Regions from separate parts of the Homo sapiens genome. Here all the other regions are linked to region 3. The links are contacts of gene promoters, found by promoter capture Hi-C in human tissues and cell types (Jung and others, 2019). All regions are on one chromosome and are shown on one strand. The core of a region is centred on a gene start or on the middle of the fragment in contact, and the rest is flanking DNA. Distances in the headings are between cores, read along the strand shown. Region 1 overlaps RCN2 (reticulocalbin 2). Region 2 has its middle 25 kb from the start of PSTPIP1. Region 3 holds the start of ISL2 (ISL LIM homeobox 2). Region 4 overlaps PSTPIP1 (proline-serine-threonine phosphatase interacting protein 1). Region 5 overlaps SCAPER (S-phase cyclin A associated protein in the ER).

Region 1 (3,299 bases), core at 12-2,511, 610 kb after region 3:
ATTAATGGTGTGGTAGGGATTCTCATCCCAATTGCTTATTAGAGATTTTTATCCCAGTTTGATAGATGAGGAAACCAGAGAGGTTAAGCAGTTTGCGCTGACACCACAGCTAGTAAGTGGCATTGCTGGAATTCAGGTCTGGGTCTATATGACTCTAGAGCTTGTGAGTCTATCCTGCCCCTAATACATGTATTTGTGTAGCTTACCTTCAAAGGGACGATGTGAAGATAAATGAGATAACGGATGGGAATGTACTTTAAATTTCACATAGTTTGTATTTTTCAAAGTATTTAAAATGATGTGGTATACTAATGAGAAATTTTAATTTTCAAAGCTTCACTTAAAGGACAAGAAGCGATTTGAAAAAGCTAACCAGGATTCAGGTCCCGGTTTGAGTCTTGAAGAATTTATTGCTTTTGAGCATCCTGAAGAAGTTGATTATATGACGGTAAGAAAGAAACATTTTTAAGAGAATTATTGAGTGACCAAAACTTTAAAAAAATATATTTAAAATTTTTGTGGGTACATAGTAGGTATATATGTTTATGGGATACATGAGACTTTTTTTTTTTTTTTTTTTTTTTTTTGAGACGGAGTATCGCTCTGTCGCCCAGGCTGGAGTGCAGTGGGGCGATCTCGGCTTACTGCAAGCTCCGCCTCCCGTGTTCACGCCATTCTCCTGCCTCAGCCTCTCTGAGTAGCTGGAACTACAGGCGCCCGCCACTACACCTGGCTAATTTTTTGTATTTTCAGTAGAGACGGGGTTTCACCGTGGTCTCAATCTCCTGACCTCGTGATCCGCCCGCCTCGGCTTGCCAAAGTGCTGGGATTATAAGCGTGAGCCACCGCGCCCGGCCGAGATGTTTTGATACAGGCATGCAATGTGAAATAATCAGATCATAGACAATGAGGTATCCATCCCCTCGAACTTTTATCCTTTGTGTTACTAACAATCCCGTGAACACTCTTTTAGTTATTTTAAAATGTATAATTAGTTACTACTGACTATAGTCAACCCTGTTATGCTGTCAAATAATAGATCTTATTCATTCTTACTGTTTTTTTTGTACTCATTAACTGTTCTCAGCGCCCCCTCCCCCAACACTTCCCAGTCTCTGGTAACCATCTTCTACCGTCTATGTCCATGAGTTCAATTGTTTTGATTTTTAGATCCCACAAATGAGTGAGAACATGGGATGTTTGTCTTTCTGTGCCTGACTTATTTCACTTAATATGATCTCCAGTTCATCCATGCTGTTGTGTGGATCAACATGTTGTTGCAGGATCTCTTTCTTTTTTATGACTGAATAGTACTCCATTGTGTATATGTACATTTTCTTTATCCATTCATCTGTTGATGTACGCTTGGGTTGCTTCCAAATCTTGGCTTTTGTGAACAGTGCTACAACAAACATGGGAGTGCAGATATTTCTTTGACATAGTGGTTTCCTTTCTTTTGGGTATATACCCAGCAGTGGGATTGCTGGATCATATGGTAGCTCTATTTTTAGTTTTTTGAGGAACCTCCAAACTGTTCTCCATAGTGGTTGTATGAATTTACATTTCCAAGTAACCAAAACTTTAAAACCTGTTCATTAAGTTGTTAAAATGAATTGTATAACCAGAATTTTAAGAGATACACAGATTTAAAATGATGCTCATTCTCCCCACTTAAAATTAGGCTTGGTAAGGAGGCTTTCTTGTGGTGACGAAGTTGCTTATTGGGAGGGAGAAGGTGAAAGACTGAATTTTTAAATCTCTGTACTATGTATGAACAGCAGGCTTCCTCAGGCTATTTTCTCTCATAACTGTGTTACCTTCAGTGCCTTCCTTATCCTTTTGTAGCTTTCAGATTTTTTTTGGTTTTTCAATGTTAGTAATATTAGGATTTCTGTTTAATTTACAACATCACTTATGAAAGCTTTTGGTCTGGAAAAACATCATGTTTGGATTCTTCATAGGGTTGGTAGGGGTGCAGCTGCTAGTTAACTAGTAATGTTTTTGCAATTTTAAGTATAATGAGTCCTCTCATCCCTTTAATATTTAAAATAAGTACCAGTTTTTCAAAACTTTTGTTGAATTGTAAGTTTAACTCAACAAACATAAATTGAGTCCCTATTATGACTTGGCCAAGCTTGAAAGCATAAACCATCACACTGGGAAATAAAGACTAATGTAACAAATAGCTTTTTAAAAAAGAGACTAAACATTTATATTGAAGTCTGTTGCATGACATCAGCCTCCAGCTACGTGGCTTGGTTCCCTGGATATTTCAAAGAAGGAAGATATATCTTTTTGTTTAATGTGTCATGGTAGACCCTGCTGCCTTGCATAACAAGGCTGCAGATACATTTTTCTCCATAGCTCAGTGGTAAGACACTGTCATTAATACCACTTCTCTTGCCATTGTGAAGCTTCTAATTTCTCATTGGCACAGAATACATGACCCAGTTTAAGAACAGTGCTGGGTGTAATTTAAGTACCAAAATTAAGTTGGGAAAAGCTAATTGAGCCCAAGAATGACAGGCAAAGGATGCTAGATCTTGATTCTCTGGAGAATAAGGAACAATTGAAGACTAAAGAGGGGAATTACCAGTAAAAGCAATGAAATAATTTAGGCATAATGTGATACGGCCCAGAGTTCTATCTGGCAATTGAATGAAATAGATTTGAGCAACATTTTGAAGAAAGCATATGCAGGAATGTTGACTTACTAAATAAGTGTTAAGGGAAGGCAAGAGTCAGAGATGGGCCAGGCATGGTGGCTCACACCTGTAATCCCAGCACTTTGGGAGGCCAAGGCAGGAGGACAGCTTGAGGCTAGGAGTTCAAGACCAGCCTGGACAACATAGCAGACCTTGTCTCTACAAAAAAGTTAGCCAGGTGTGGTGGCATGCACCTGTGGTCCTAGCTACTTGGGAGACTGAGGTGAGAGGATCACTTGAGTCCAGTAGTTGGAGCCTATGATGCCACTATTATTGTGCCACTGCTCTCTAGCCTGGGTGACAGAATGAGATCCTATGTTAAAAAAAAAAAGAAGGGGGAGGGCTAGGCGGAGTGGCTTACGCCTGTAATCCCAGCACTTTGGGAGGCTGAGGCTGGCAGATCATCCGAGGTTAGGAGTTTGAGATCAGCCTTGCCAACATGGCAAAACACTGTCTCTACTAAAAATATAAAAGTTAGCTGGGTGTGGTGGCATACGCCTGTAGTCCCAGCTGCTTTGGAGGCTGAGGCAGGAGATTTGCTTGAACCCGGGAAGCAGAGGTTGTAGTGTGCTGAGATCATACCATTGTACTCTA
Region 2 (3,320 bases), core at 811-3,310, 630 kb after region 3:
ACTGTGATTACAGGCATGAGTCACTGTGCCCAGCCATTGAGGATATTAAGTCAGCCCCAGCTCTGAAGGTGCCATCAGTGAGGAGGAGATGGACATAAGAAAATCACAGCCCAGGTTCTAAAGGCCTCATCTTCTTTAAAAAAAAAAAAAAAAAGAAAAGAAAAGAAAAAAGAAAGAAAGAAAATCACAGCCTGGAAATCCGTGAATTGACACTGATAAGTTCACACAGGCTATACAGTTAGCCAGGTGAAGAAAAGAAGGATACCAAGCCTTCTAAGCAGAGAGTAGAGCATGTGTGGGCAGCCCAGAGTCAGGGAAGTGTGGGCTTCCTCCTTGGTAGAGAGGGGCATGAGAGGTGCTGGGTAGAGAGGGCCAGAATGTTATAGGAAAGGCATCCTGATCCAGACCCCAAGAGAGGGTTCTTGGATCTTGCACAAGAAATAATTCAGGGTAAGTCCGCAGTGCAATGTAAAAGCAAGTTTATTAAGAAGGTAAAGTGGTGAAAGGACGGCTACTCCATAGACAGAGCAGGACGTTCCCGAAAGTAAGAGGAGGAAGGCGTCCACCCTGGGTACAATGCTTGTATATATGGAGAGATGTGCTCTGCTACAAGGGTTTGTGATAAAGGATTAATTTTCTTAATTATGATATTTTGCAAGAATTGATATTATTATCTTTAAAGCAAAATTAGGAATGCCTGTGTTCTCCAGATATCAGGATATCTGGACATTCCCGTCTGGGTCTGTTTAGTAAACATTATTAATTTTTTCCCTTAACTGTAAATATCTAGAGGCCAGGAATGCCTGACTTTCTGAGAATGCAGCCCAGCAATTCCCAGCCCCATTTTCCTAGCCCTTACTCAAAATGGAGTCGCTCTGGTTCGAATGCCTCTGACAAGAAGATAGACCAATATGAGGGGCCAGGCAGGTCTGGTGGGTGCTGTCTGTCAAGCTGAATTTGGACTTTATCCTATGAATGATCAAAAACTGTTGATGGGTTTTAAGCAGGGGAGAGTCTTGACCACATTGGTAATATAGAAAAACTCTGTGAAATAAGGATGTACAGGATTTGCATCTAAAATGAACTCAGATCAAAATACAAAAGGCAAGCCTGCCGTGGTGGCTCACATCTGTAATCCCAGCGCTTTGGGAGACTGAGGTGGGTGGATGACTTGAGGCCAGGAATTGGAGACTAGCCTGGCCAACATGGTGAAACCCTGTCTGTACTAAAAAAATACAAAAATTAGCCGGGTATGGTGGCGCGTGCCTGTAGTCCCAGCTATTCACAAGGCTGAGGCAGGAGAATCACTTGAACCCAGGAGACAGAGGTTGCAGTGAGCCCAGATCAAGCCACTGCACTCCAGCCTAGGCGACAGAGCAAGACTCTGTCTCAAAACAAAACATAATCAAAAAAGGCAATTAGTTGCAGGACTATTTGTAATGAGAAACAGCCCAAATGTCTGTCAATAGGCTGGCTGAATGAACTATGGTACAGCCATGCCAAGAAGTACTAGGTAGCTGGAGAAAGAAGTGAAGACTGTTTCCATATAGAATATATCATTAAGAAAAGGAATGTGTGTCTCACAGTTCTCTAAGGAAGGCAGGGATGCAAATATATAAACATGTAAATGTATCTGCTTATATTTAAAAGCACACAAGCAATGGAAGGATAAAGCAATGAAAAGTGGCTACCTGTAGGAGGAGAGAGGGAGCAGAACGGAAGAGATAGAGATGGAAGCTGGACTTATTTGAAGATAGCTTGTTTTGTACATGTGACTTTGGAACTGAGTAAATATTTCATAAAAGTAAAAAAATTACATAAAAATGAATCCCCCCAAAAAGAAGCAAATAAACATAATGTGCATCTGGTTGGTGGAGTCAGCACACAGATGAACTGTTCTAAACACAGTAATTTGACTGTACAACCCCAAAAGGATATAGCCTGAAGACAAAAAGAACTGCAAATACACAAACGAAAATCTTAAATTGTTTTCAGCAGTCACTTGGCTGATGGGAGACTTGGTATTGGTGTTCTGAGACTGTTGTGTGCAGTGTGGAATGAAGCAAATGAGAAATTATGTGAAATTCTAATTCTGGAATTCCTGGTGTTTTTGAGAAATGAGATTCTGGACATGGGAGAAAGGAGGTACAGATGGAAGAAGGAAGAGGTTGTGCAAACACCCTGTAGACCTAAATTTAATTGAAAGTATCAATATGAACTTATGATGTGCCTTATATTTATATTGAGAAAAAATGTATTTCCTAGTTCTGACCTCAGAAAAGACCTAAGAACAATAAGCATTTCAGTAGCTATGAGCACCCCAGTACCTAGATTATCTTCTTGAAATATACCCAGTAAAAGAACTAGTGTTCCCTGAAAAAGTGATTGATTCCAGGTCTGAGACAGGAAATGGACAACAGGTGACTGGAACATTGGCCATATCAGATGGCAAGAAAGTTCTCTAAGACAGCTAGGGTGGTGTCCAAAGGACTCAGGAGTCAACTTGAAGAGGCCCCCTCTGGCCAAAGATGGGACCATTTTTGCATCAATAAAGGCAAAAATTGCAATGGATTGAAGCACATCAAATATGTTTAACTCCATGAGTTCATAATGATACTAAAACATATCTAATTGGTCACCTTTGGAGTATTCGGTGGTTCATAAACTGATAAAGAGAAATAATTGAGCATTTATCCCGCCTATACTGTACAAACTACTACTGGGTAACCAAATAGTAGATAAGGAGACGTTTCTCTTTATAGAAGTAATTCAGCTCGTAAATCAAGAAGAAATGGTAGAATTAGAATATTGCCATGTGGCAATCCCTAATTAATGGATAGTGGCACTGATCAGCAATGTCTGCTAATATCACAAATTGAGATAACCAGACCTCATAGGCCTCCTATGAAGTATTCTTGCCAAAAAATTGGACCTGAATCTAGATTCAAATGGCAATTTACAGGAAATACAGGAGATAGAAGAAAATATTAAAGGACACAATGGATATGCAATCAGTCATTCTATACTGTGGGAAGCTCTACAGGATAAATGATCTAGTTTCTTTCTTTCTCTTTTCTTTTCTTTGTTTTTGAGACAGGGTCTCGTCTGTCACCCATGCTGGAGTGCAGCAGCATGATCACAGCTCACTGCAGCCTCAATCTCCCAGACTCAAGTGATCCTCCTGCCTCAGCCCCCCTGAGGAGCTGGGACTACAGGTGCACACCACCATACCTGGCTAATTTTTGGTTTTGTTTTTTGGCAGAGACAGGGTTTTGCTATGTTGCCCATGCTGGTCTCAAACTCCTGGGCTCAAGTGATCC
Region 3 (3,853 bases), core at 918-3,417:
TGCCTGAGGTCACACAGGTGTCCTGGCACAGCCTCAGGCACAGATACCCACCCCCTCGCTCTTGTCCCCCATTTACATAAACACATTCATTCAAACGCAGCATCCCCCAACCCCTGACCTGCCCGCACACACTCAGGGTGAGCGCTCTTTGGGGGACTGTTGACTAAAGACGCAAGAAATGGCCTATTGGCCAACGGGTGGTAAACTGTAACAAGAGCCGGTCCGGTGGCCCGGCGCGGTGGCTCACGCCTGTAATCCCAGCACTGTGGGAAGCCGAGGTGGGCGGATCACGAGGTCAGGAGTTCGAGACCAGCCTGACAAACATGGTGAAACCCGGTTTCTACTAAAAATACAAAAATTAGCGGGGCGTGGTGGCGCTCGCCTGCAATCTCAGCTACTCAGGAGGCTGAGGCAGGAGAATCGCTTGAACCCGGGAGGCGGAGGTTGCAGTGAGCCGAGATCGCACCATTACACTCCAGCCTGGGCGGCACAGCAAGAGTCTATCTCAAAAAAAAAAAAAAAAAAAAAAAAAAAAAAGCCGGACCGGTGAGAAGACTAGACCTCCTAAAGGTGGAGGCGGAGCTCAAAAGCCGGACGCTACTGGACGAGGCTTAAAGCGCTCGCCCCAGCGCGGGGCCGGTGAGGAACGTTCACCGTGGACCATGGTCGAATAATGTTAGCGTGCACTCGGGGCCTCGCCCTAGCCTTCTGCAAAGCCTCGGCCTGCGCCCTCGGCTGCATCCGTTTCGACGCCAACCAACCTCATGCTCTTAGTAGAACGGCAGTAGCGACCGCGCCCTCAGGCCCACAAGCCCGAAGGTCTGGGCAGGGTCTGGAATGGCGGTGGAGACACTTTATCCGCAGGCGTTTCACCTCGCGCCCCACCCAGGCGCACACCAAGTTCTTGGTACTCCTTTTAATGGGAAAACAAGAACAGACACCATGGTTGGATAAATGTTATTTATAATTCATGGGCCGGTCTTTGAACCCTTTCAAACAAAACCCACAGCGATTTCTTTGAAAGAATGCCTGGACTGTGCTCAGAGCTCTCAGATTTTCTCAGGACCAACGAGCCGCCGCCTCGCAGATACCACTGTAAATTACCCAGCGCCTTACGTTCGTTTCTGATTATTTGCATTGCAGTGGGTTTGTTAATGAAGGACAAGAGTTTAGAAAAATCTTTTATTTTGGAAGTTGGACACGCAATCGACCCCAGCAGTGTTCCTAAAAGGAGCTATGCCATTTGGATGGGGGAAAAATGAGGGGGCGGGGAAGTCCATGTTACATTTAAAACAACAACAGCAACAAATTAAAAGCAAAACAAAACAACAAAAAAAAGGAAGTGGAGCAGGAGGAGGAGGTGGTGGTGGAGGAGAGGGAGGAGGGGCAGCAGCAGCGGCAGCAGCAGCAAGGATGGAGTCAGGACCCGTCCCAGTCCCGGGTGAGCGCTTTTGGATCTGGGTTCTGGCTCAACCCACGTAATGCCCCAATCTAAAGTTTTCTACGTGTGTGTGGATAGGAAAGTCTAAATAGAGTTTATCAGAACCCAGGTGGTCATTCTCTACACTCTCTCTAGCTTGGACCCGAAGAACAAAGGCACATGAGAGGAGAAAGGTGACCAGCTGGACGATGACGGTCACGTCCAAACGGATCCCCCTTGTCCTCGGCTCTCTCGTCCTGAGAGTGGGTTTAATTTTTTTTTTTTTAATTTATATAAGAAGGGAGCTCTTAAAGGAGAGCCATCTCCACCCTCAGGTATCCATCACCCAGCTCCAGCGCGCCTGGGAAAACCGCCCCGAAAGTCCAAGAGGAAGCTCAGAGTTGTAACGGCCGCGGAGCCAGCTCGGCGGTGACGCAAGGTCCAGTCCAGATTGCCAGGCCCGGGGCATGAGAGAGGATCCTTGTAGGTTTCGGAGGTGGGGGGGCTGCACTCCATTGTTCACTCCGGGCCAATCAGGGTTGGCCCACTTCCTCCCAGCCAATCTCCCTTCACCCCCAGCCTCCAACCCAACCCACCCCGCCCATCAGCCCCTGGATCCCCATCACCTCCCCCGCATCCCCGGCAGTTCTGGGGAAGCTTCGTGACGCCACAGGTCCCGCCCCCAGCTCCGGCCCGGGGCTAGTGCGTGTTGACGTCATGCTGCGTGCGGGCCGGTGCGGAATCGCTCCTTCAACTCCGCGGGGCAGTAGGAGTTAGTTAGCAAAGAGCCGAGGCCGGGCGCGCGACCCTCGTCCTTCTGCCCCTGGCCGCACACTTTGCGCACATCTCTTTTTCTGCATGGTGGATATTATTTTTCATTATCCTTTTCTGGGTGCTATGGGTGATCATTCCAAGAGTAAGTATTTCTGTGTGTGTGTGGGGTGGGGTGTGTGTGTATGCTTAATATGCAAAATTTCTAATGCAGAAAAATGTTTAGTGGATTCTACAAGTGGCTTCTATTTGTCAGAATAGTTTAGGAGAGGAAAAACGAATGCATGTCTCCTGCAGGACTGCTTATCTTTGGGAATCCTGTTGTTTTATTTTATAAGTAAACACTATTTCTCAAGCCGGCTAGGATGACTTCGGGCTGCGAAATCTGCTTCTGTTTTGCGCAAAGGCAATTAGGTTTGATTTAGGGATGTGGGTTTTTTTTTTTTTGGTTGTTGTTTGTTTGCCTTTCGGTTTTTCAAAGCTAGGAAGCTTTCTTTCGCTTGCTCTGGGATATTTAAACTAAGAAATGTCTGAGAGGATGAGCGGGGACTGCCGAAAGACGATGTGTCTGTGTTGGGATAGGAGGCAGCCGCTGTGAGTGGGAGTGTGTGAGCGGAAATGCCAGGACAGCACCGTTAGGTGTTGATATCCAGGCGTCCGCAGTGCCTGTGTATTTACTCTCTTCTTAGTTTCGTGTTTGCGTTTAGTTTCAAGACACGTCGACAAAACGACTGTCATTAATGAATGTAATAACGAAATATTTGGGGTGGGGGACAGAAGAAACCTTCAGCAATCCACAAGATACTGGTTTTTCGTTTCCAATGCCCTGGACCTTTAGAGAGCTCATCATCTTTCCTTATGGTCGCAAGTCTTGAAAGAAAGAGCAAGAGAGCGAGCGGGTTGGGTTGGGGCTGGAGTAGCCGAGGCCGGCCTGGGTCCGGGCAGTCAGGCCTGACGCGGCCCCGCGCCCTTCCCCGGCAGAGAAGCCCGGGACGGCCATGTGCGTGGGCTGCGGGAGTCAGATCCACGACCAGTTTATCCTGCGGGTGTCGCCCGACCTCGAGTGGCACGCGGCCTGCCTCAAGTGTGCCGAGTGCAGCCAGTACCTGGACGAGACGTGCACGTGCTTCGTGAGAGACGGGAAGACCTACTGCAAGCGGGACTATGTCAGGTGAGGCCGGCGGGAACGCGGGCTGGGCCACCGCGCGCAGGGGCCGGGGCCGGGACTGGGGATGGCGGCCTGCCCGCGCGCCCCGGCCCTGCCCAGGGAGAAGGCCATCCGCATCCCGCACGGGTGCCGCAGCGCTCCCCCGGGCCCGGGAATGCCCGCAGGCGGGTCACCGCAGTCTCCTGGTGGCCACAAAGTGTCCTGGGCGCGCGCCGGAGCCGTAGCAGCCAGGGAGATGAGGGCGGCCGCAGGCCCAGCGCTGACACCGCCGCACCTTGGGCCCGCAGGCTGTTCGGCATCAAGTGCGCCAAGTGCCAGGTGGGCTTCAGCAGCAGCGACCTGGTGATGAGGGCGCGGGACAGCGTGTACCACATCGAGTGCTTCCGCTGCTCCGTGTGCAGCCGCCAGCTGCTGCCTGGGGACGAGTTCTCGCTGCGGGAGCACGAGCTGCTCTGCCGCGCCGACCACGGCCTCCTGCTCGAGCGCGCCGCGGC
Region 4 (3,705 bases), core at 1,107-3,606, 670 kb after region 3:
AGCAGCAATGCTGCCATTTGCTGAGTGCCTGTTCCATGCCAGGCATGCTGCCATTCAGTCCACATGCCCCCAAACGCATTGTCAGTGTCTTCCTGACTCTGTGATGGGACCTAAGGCACGGCAGGTCTAGGCCCAGACGAGGGTCACCTGTGCAGGGTAGAGCAGGGACTCCCACCTAGGTCTGTCGAACTCTATTGCCCTCTGCCCTGAATTCTAGAGAGTTTGTTCTTGCTTCTACTTTAATTTGTGTAGGATGAAAGGATGCTTCCCTACATGTTAACACTGGTGTCTATGGATTTGGAAGTAGGATTCTCTCCATCCCCCATCTAATTTTCTGCAAGTCAATACAGAGTACCTTTGTCATTAAAAAGAAAATATTTAAAAAGAAAACTAAGCAATTCCTGCTTTCAAGAATGAGTTGGTGTTTCTAGGCCAAATTTGTGGTTTGCTAGCATGCCCTTTTCCACATGCTCGGTGCATATTTTGTGGTACGTGGGCCTCTGGGGACCAAGAACTTCGTTCATCTGTGCCCATTCCACAGGACGTGGCCGGCTGCTCAGGTGTTAGAAGATTGCAGAGGTTTGTGGTCATGCTTGCTTTGCTTTTGCGATGCCTGCAGATGGTCACTGCCAGGATTTGCTGGCTGCAGGGTTCTGGGTCGATTTGGTGTTCTGAATTCAATTTTATTCTTGATAAAAAACAAGATCTGCTTCTTGATGACCCACTTTGTGCTCCAGTCCCCTGGAACCCACATGCTTTTCCTGGCTGCTCCTGACATCTACACAGAACTAGGGCAGCCCCTGGGATGGAGAAGGAGGGCCTTGCTTTGGGCTTTGAAGGGTGGGTGAGGATTTGAGACATGTCAGGAGGACAAACGGCACTCAAGGTGGGAGGTACGGCATGGGCAAAGGTGTGGAAGGGGGTTTGGAAGACAGTTTTCTGGCCCAGAGCATTGTGCAAGGTGACTGGTAGGAAGGGAAGGCACGAGCTGGATTGTGAAAGGTCTCTGCCCTAAGTGGTGGCAGAGATACTTTCTTCTGCCTCTCTGCACCCTCTCTGGTGGTGGCTGTTTCCTCTCATGCAAAAGAGGACAGAGGCTGCGGGCTGTGAGTGGGATGCCCTTCCTCCTCACCCAGAGCCTGGCTGACGCTGCAAACCACATGATGGAGGGAACTTTGGGTGGAAACCAAGACTGCCTCTGCTTCCAGCTAGAGAGCATGATGCCCTGGGCCCTGGGCTGCCCACACCAGGACTCTCCTCTGGGTTGGCTCTGGAAGGTTCCTCCCTCACAGACTCAGTCATGCTCCATCCTCCAGGCTTAGAAGGAAATCGGCTTCTTGGGAGGCCGAGGCGGGTGGATCATCTGAGGTCAGGGGTTCGAGACCAGCCTGGCCACCATGGTGAAACCCTGTCTCTACTAAAACTACAAAAAAATTAGCGGGGCATGGTGGCGCATGCCTGTAATCCCAGCTACTCAGGAGGCTGAGGCAGGAGAATCGCTTGAACCCAGGAGGTGGAGGTTGCAGTGAGCTGAGGTTTCACAATTGCACTCCAGCCTGGGCAAAAGAACGAAACTCCGTCTCAAAAAAAAAAAAAGAAGAAGAAGGAAGCGGGCTTCTTTGAAGCCTCACCCAACCCTCACCCACACTTGCTAGGTGGCCTTGGAGAATCATTTTCCCTTTCTGAACCTCAGTTTCCTCATCTGCAGGATGTCAGGGTCGTCATCACTTAAGATAAGGGCTTTGAGGTTGGGGCGGCTCAGGGCAGTGCTAAGGGACCACCTCCTGCTCACCACAGTGGAGTAGCAGACCAGGAACAGTTCCCAGGGGACCCAGATTTATAATTGGATATGCACCCATAGGGTGAGCCTTATACATAGATCTTGCTGTTTCAGAATGCCTCCTCCAATCATGTTCACCATTGCATGTTATACTCCACCATTAGAGAATCATTCCTTTGGTTTCAAGTAACAAGATGATCTATGTTATCTCACTTAATTCCAACAATAGTCCTGTGAGGTCAGTATTCTTATTCCTGTTTTACAGAGAGGAAACTGAGCCTCTTGGAAGGAATGTGGGCCTGGGGGATGCCACACAGATGGATCGGACTGGGCTGGGCCTGGATGCCACCTTCCCAGGTCTGGGTCAGAGAGCCCTTTGCAGTTAATGGGAGGGTGTGTTGGTTTGCTGAGGCCTGGCACACTGAGCAATGGGTGATGGAACAGGCAGGAGAGCGACAGCTCCTTCCACTGGTGTTGACAGGCCACCCACCATTGGGCAACAGGAAGTGCCAGCTGGAGCCCTGGAGACCAGCAGCCAGTGTGGGGATGTGGTGGCCAGATGGAACTCAGGGCTTCCCAGCTGTGGAAACAGGAACGGGAAACAGCCACACTGGGGAGGAAGTCAGGGGGTGATGGGCTGAGGCAAGAGCATGCCTGCGTGGCTAGAGAGAGTGACCAAGGTGGAGAGTAGTTGGAGATAAGGTAAGAAATAGAACAGTGGCCAGGCGTGGTGGCTCACACCTGTAATCCCAGCACTTTGGGAGGCTGAGGTGGGAAGATCACTTGAACCCAGGAGTTCAAGACCAGTCTGGGCAACATGGTGAAACCACTTCTTAAAAAAAAAAAAAAGTACAAAAATTAGCTGTACCTGGTGGTGCACACCTGTAGTCTCAGCTACTTGGGAAGCTGGAGTGGAAGGGTCACTTGAGCCCAGGAGTTGGAAACTGTAGTGACTGTATGATCGCACCACTGCACTCCAGCCTGGGCAACAGAGCAAGACTGTCTCAAAACAAACAAACAAACAAACAAAAAAAACAAAGAAAGAAAAGAGAAGCAGAGAGCCAGATCTTGTAGGACTGTCATTCTAAAAAATCCCAATGCCCAGGCCACACCCCAGGTCAATTACACCCCGATTTCTGAGGGTAGGACCTGGACATCAGTATTTTTCAAAGTTCCCCAGTGCCTCCATGTGGAACTTTAGCTTGAGAGGCATCAACATAGATAATTGTGGTAATTAATTACCATTGCTGGCCAAGCATGGTGGCTCATGCCTATAATCCCAGCAGTTTGGGAGGCCAAGGTGGGCAGATCACCTGAGGTCGGGAGTTCAAGACCAGCCTGGCCAACATGGTGAAACCCTGTCTCTACTAAAAATACAAAAAATGTAGCCAGGTATGGTGGTGCATGCCTGTAATCCCAGCTACTTGAGAGGCAGAGGCAGGAGAATTGCTTGAACCTGGGAGGCAGAGGTTGCAGTGAGCCAAGATTGTGCCACTGCACTCCAGCCTGGGCAACAAGAGCAAACACTCAATATCAAAACAAAACAAAACAAAAATTACCATTGCTGACAATAGGCATACATCTGGTTTTTACCATTTTCCTGACCTCATTTGACTCACCTGAGTGAGCAGAGGTTAGAAGTTTTGGGGGTGGTGGTAATTATATGTAACATAAAATTGACCATTTTAACAATTTTTAAGTATATGATTCAGAGGCATTAAGAACATTCACTATTTCCTGAACTGCTTCATCATCCTGAACAGAAATTGTACCCATCAAACAATAACTCCCCACCCCTTCACCGCATACCTTGTTCTACCTCGATTCTACTTTCTAGCTCTATGGATTTGCCTATTCTAGGCATCTCCTGTAAGTAGAATCAGATAATATTTGTCCTTTTGTGTCTGGCTTATTTCAGTTAGCAT
Region 5 (3,539 bases), core at 171-2,670, 540 kb after region 3:
TCTGAAGCCAACTCTACTTGCTACTGAAAGCATTCTAAGAGAGTATTCCTCTTAGCCCAGCCAAAGCCTAATGATCTTTCGAATCCCAACTTAAATGTAACGTCCTAAGGCTAAGTTTTCTTCAACCCCGAGACTTGGCCAGGATTCCTTTTATATACTCAAACCAACTTGTACTCCTTTGTAACACTTAACCACAATTATATTTTAAATCATACACTTAATGTGTTTACTCTGTCTTCCATTAGACAGTAAGTTTCTGAAGGACTAGGTTTTGTTCACTATTCTCACTGTGTAGGATGGTGTCTGGCACATAAATATGTATGAATAAATGAATAACTGGCAGAATGATTTTTAAAAAGCATCAATAAATGAACATTATTGGGAAATGAGGTGTTCTACATAAATTGATAACTTAGGTTTGCCCCGCTAAGCACAAATTCTTTTTGGTTTTATTATTTTGTATGAAAATCTCTGAACACATTTCCTTGACCTCTGCGACAGAGGCTACTAAAGAAACTTACTCTTTTCTTGATAACTTCAGGTTACCACTATGAACACCAACTTCTATATGATACTATAATTTAATTATGCCTCAGGAGTTATAGAAATACAAAAGACAGTTGTCCTAAAATAAATGGGCACAGACAAAAGTGTTGTTAAAGATTTTTTAGTTCTTTACTTCCTGATGATTAAGAAGAACACAAAAGCTTAATTCTTAATTATTTTCTCCTCTTCCCTAACAAGCTATTAGCTGTCAATTCTTATTTGGTAGGCTTATGGGAAATGTACTATTACAGTTCTGAATAAGGAACTCAAGAATTCTGCAAGTACAGTGAATATACTTACAGTGTGTGGACTATCTGTTGTGTATGATCATAAGCATTTTTCATTTACTTTCAGGTTTTTGGACATATTCCTTAGAGTCACAATTGGCAGATAAGAAAAACTTTACTATATCTTACCTGCTAGAGTTTTAAAACAGAGATCAATAGGAAATAGTATGCAGCTATAAAAAGAAACGAAGATCTCTAACACTCTAGGATATATTGCTAAGTGAAAAGAAAAAAAAAAAACTCCCAAGATACTAAAATATATTACCTTTAGGTTCAAAAAAGAAAAACACATGTATATACATATAAATGTATACATTCATTTTGAAAATATAAAAGATAAATCAAACATTAAGAAAAACGATTACCCATGCACCCATTAAAATGGCTACCATCAAAAAAACAGAAAATAAAAAATGTTGGTGAGGATGTGGAAAAACTGGAACCCTTGTGCACTGTTGGTGGGAATTTTAAATGTTGCAGCCACTGCGGAAAACACTATGACAGTTCCTCCAAACATTAAAAATAGATTTACCATATTATCTACAAGTTCCACTTTTGGTTACGTACCCGAAATAACTGAAAACAGTTCTTTACTATTTTATTTATTTATTTACTTTTTGGAGACAGAGTCTTGCTCTGACACAAAGGCTAGAGTGTAGTGATATGATCATGGCTCACTGCAACCTCCGCCTCCTGGGTTCAAGCGATTCTCATGCCTCAGCCTCTCATGTAGCTGGGACTAAAGGTGCATATCACCATGCCAGCTAATTTTTTGTATTTTTAGTAGAGCCAGGGTTTCGCCATGTTGGCCAAGCTGGTCTCAAACTCCTGACCTCAAGTGAGCCAACTGGCTCGGCCTTCCAAAGTGCTAGGATTACAGGCGTAAGCCATTGCGTCTGGCCTGAAAACAGTCTTGAAGAGATATCTGTACACCCATGTTCATAGCATCAACATTCACAATAGCTAAAAAGGGGAAACAGCCCAAGTGTCTGATGAATGGATAAGCAAAACGTAATATATTATTATTATTTATTTATAACAGAATATTATTCAGTCTTAAAGAGGAGGGAAATCTGACATATGCTACAACATGGATGAACCTTGAAGACATTATGCTAAATGAAATAAGCCAAACACAAAAAGACAAATACTGGATGATTTCACTTATATGTGGTACATAAAGTAGTCAAAATCACAGAGACAGCAAGTGGTACAGGAGCAGGGGGTGAAGGGAAATGGGAAATTATTGTTTAATGTATAGAGTTTCAATATTTCAAGACAAGGAGTTCTGAAGATGAATAATAGTGATAGCTGCACAACAATATGAATGTACTTAATACCACTGAACTGTATACTTAAAAATGGTTCAGATGGTAAATGTCATGTTATTTGTATTAGCACAATTTAAAAAAATTAATGTTACCCACAAGGGAAGAAGAGGAAGAAGAGAGAAGAAAGCTGAATTTCTCTAAATGAACACTGTTTTATAGTTTGAATTTTGAACCATGTAAATGCTGCATATGCTATTAAATTAAAATTAAATCAAAGGAAAAAGAATTCCCTAAAAATCAAAAAGAAGCTGAGGACAGTGGAATCTCTTTTGTCAAGATACTAAGAAAGACCAGGCATAGTAGCTCATGCCTGTAATCCCAGCCCTGTGGAAGAAGGCCAAAGCAGGAGGATCACTTGAGGTCAGGAGTTCAAGATCACCTGGGCAACAAAGCAAGACCCTATCGCTACAAAAAAATTAAAAATAAAAAACTGGCATGCACCTATAGTTCCAAGCTACTTAGGAGGCTGAGGTGGGAGGACTGCTTGAGCCCAGGTGATAAAAACTGCAGTGAGCTATGATTGTGCCGCTGCACTCCAGACTGGGTGACAGAGAGACTCTGTCTCCAGAAGAAAAAAAAAAAGATATTAAGAGAAAAAAAATCTGTCAACCTAGACTTCTATCCCCTCTAAGACCATTTTTCAAAATTAGGGCAGATTAAAAAAAAAGAAATCTTCTGGCAAACAAAAGCATAGTTTATGACCAAAAGACCCAAAAGCAGACCAACAGAAAATAACCCCAAATGACAGATATGAAAAATCAAAACCTTAGAACTGAGGAAGAGTATGAAGTGGGAGGGATGAAATAAGAGCATACAACAAATAGATGCTCTCCTGCTCTTTCTTTTTTTCTTTTATTTGAGACGGAGTCTCGCTCTATAGCCCAGGTTGGAGTGCAGTGGCACGATCTTGGCTCACTGAAAGCTCCGCCTCCCGGGTTCATGCCATTCTCCTGCCTCAGCCTCCTGAGTAGCTGGGACTACAGGCGCCCACCACCACGCCAGGCTAATTTTTTGTATTTTTAGCAGAGACGGGGTTTCACCGTGTTAGCCAGGATGGTCTCGGTCTCCTGACCTTGTGATCCGCCCGTCTAGGCCTCCCAAAGTGCTGGGATTACAGGCGTGAGCCACCGTGCCCGGCCCTCTCCTGCTCTTTCAACCAGAAGAAGGGGCTCTGCCCTGAGCGCCACACTTCAGAAGGTTGTACCTATCAAAAATACCAAAATCCAAAAGGAATCAGTAACTAATTGAGTAAACACAAATTAAGAGAGAGGGACTCACAAACTAAACTTAGGGTCCCCCCAGGCCAGACAATAAGAGAGAAGGAAGAAGGCAAATCAGCATCAGTGCTGGAAAAAACAGAGCAAGAATATGTGCT

Evidence for each region. Contacts are between HindIII fragments. The study calls those that stand out against the background at their distance.
Region 1: a fragment that was not itself captured here is called in contact with the fragment with the promoter of ISL2 in region 3 in 2 of the 25 tissues and cell types used here (dorsolateral prefrontal cortex and lymphoblastoid cells).
Region 2: a fragment that was not itself captured here is called in contact with the fragment with the promoter of ISL2 in region 3 in 1 of the 25 tissues and cell types used here (lymphoblastoid cells).
Region 4: a fragment that was not itself captured here is called in contact with the fragment with the promoter of ISL2 in region 3 in 2 of the 25 tissues and cell types used here (lymphoblastoid cells and mesenchymal stem cells).
Region 5: a contact is called between a fragment that was not itself captured here and the fragment with the promoter of ISL2 in region 3, in 2 of the 25 tissues and cell types used here (lymphoblastoid cells and small bowel).

What each region holds. Positions count from the first base shown.
Region 1 is chr15:76,943,424-76,946,722 of GRCh38, forward strand. RCN2 (reticulocalbin 2) reads left to right here. Exons shown (of 7, transcript NM_002902.3): 4 at 335-448. Among named protein-coding and RNA genes, the nearest start is that of RCN2, 13 kb to the left of the region's middle. The HindIII fragment of the contact is 3,320 bases long and covers 1-2,921 here.
Region 2 is chr15:76,968,495-76,971,814 of GRCh38, forward strand. No RefSeq gene overlaps it. Among named protein-coding and RNA genes, the nearest start is that of PSTPIP1, 25 kb to the right of the region's middle. The HindIII fragment of the contact is 4,270 bases long and covers 1-3,320 here.
Region 3 is chr15:76,334,606-76,338,458 of GRCh38, forward strand. ISL2 (ISL LIM homeobox 2) reads left to right here and starts at 2,168. Exons shown (of 6, transcript NM_145805.3): 1 at 2,168-2,336; 2 at 3,173-3,362; 3 at 3,647-3,853. The coding sequence starts at 2,279. RefSeq lists enhancers at 1,903-2,197, 2,009-2,508, 2,202-2,251, 2,677-3,488. The HindIII fragment of the contact is 8,596 bases long and covers 1-3,853 here.
Region 4 is chr15:77,002,073-77,005,777 of GRCh38, forward strand. The region is part of intron 1 of PSTPIP1 (proline-serine-threonine phosphatase interacting protein 1); the gene reads left to right. Among named protein-coding and RNA genes, the nearest start is that of PSTPIP1, 8.8 kb to the left of the region's middle. The HindIII fragment of the contact is 4,540 bases long and covers 87-3,705 here.
Region 5 is chr15:76,879,661-76,883,199 of GRCh38, forward strand. The region is part of intron 2 of SCAPER (S-phase cyclin A associated protein in the ER); the gene reads right to left. Among named protein-coding and RNA genes, the nearest start is that of SCAPER, 24 kb to the right of the region's middle. The HindIII fragment of the contact is 6,155 bases long and covers 1-3,539 here.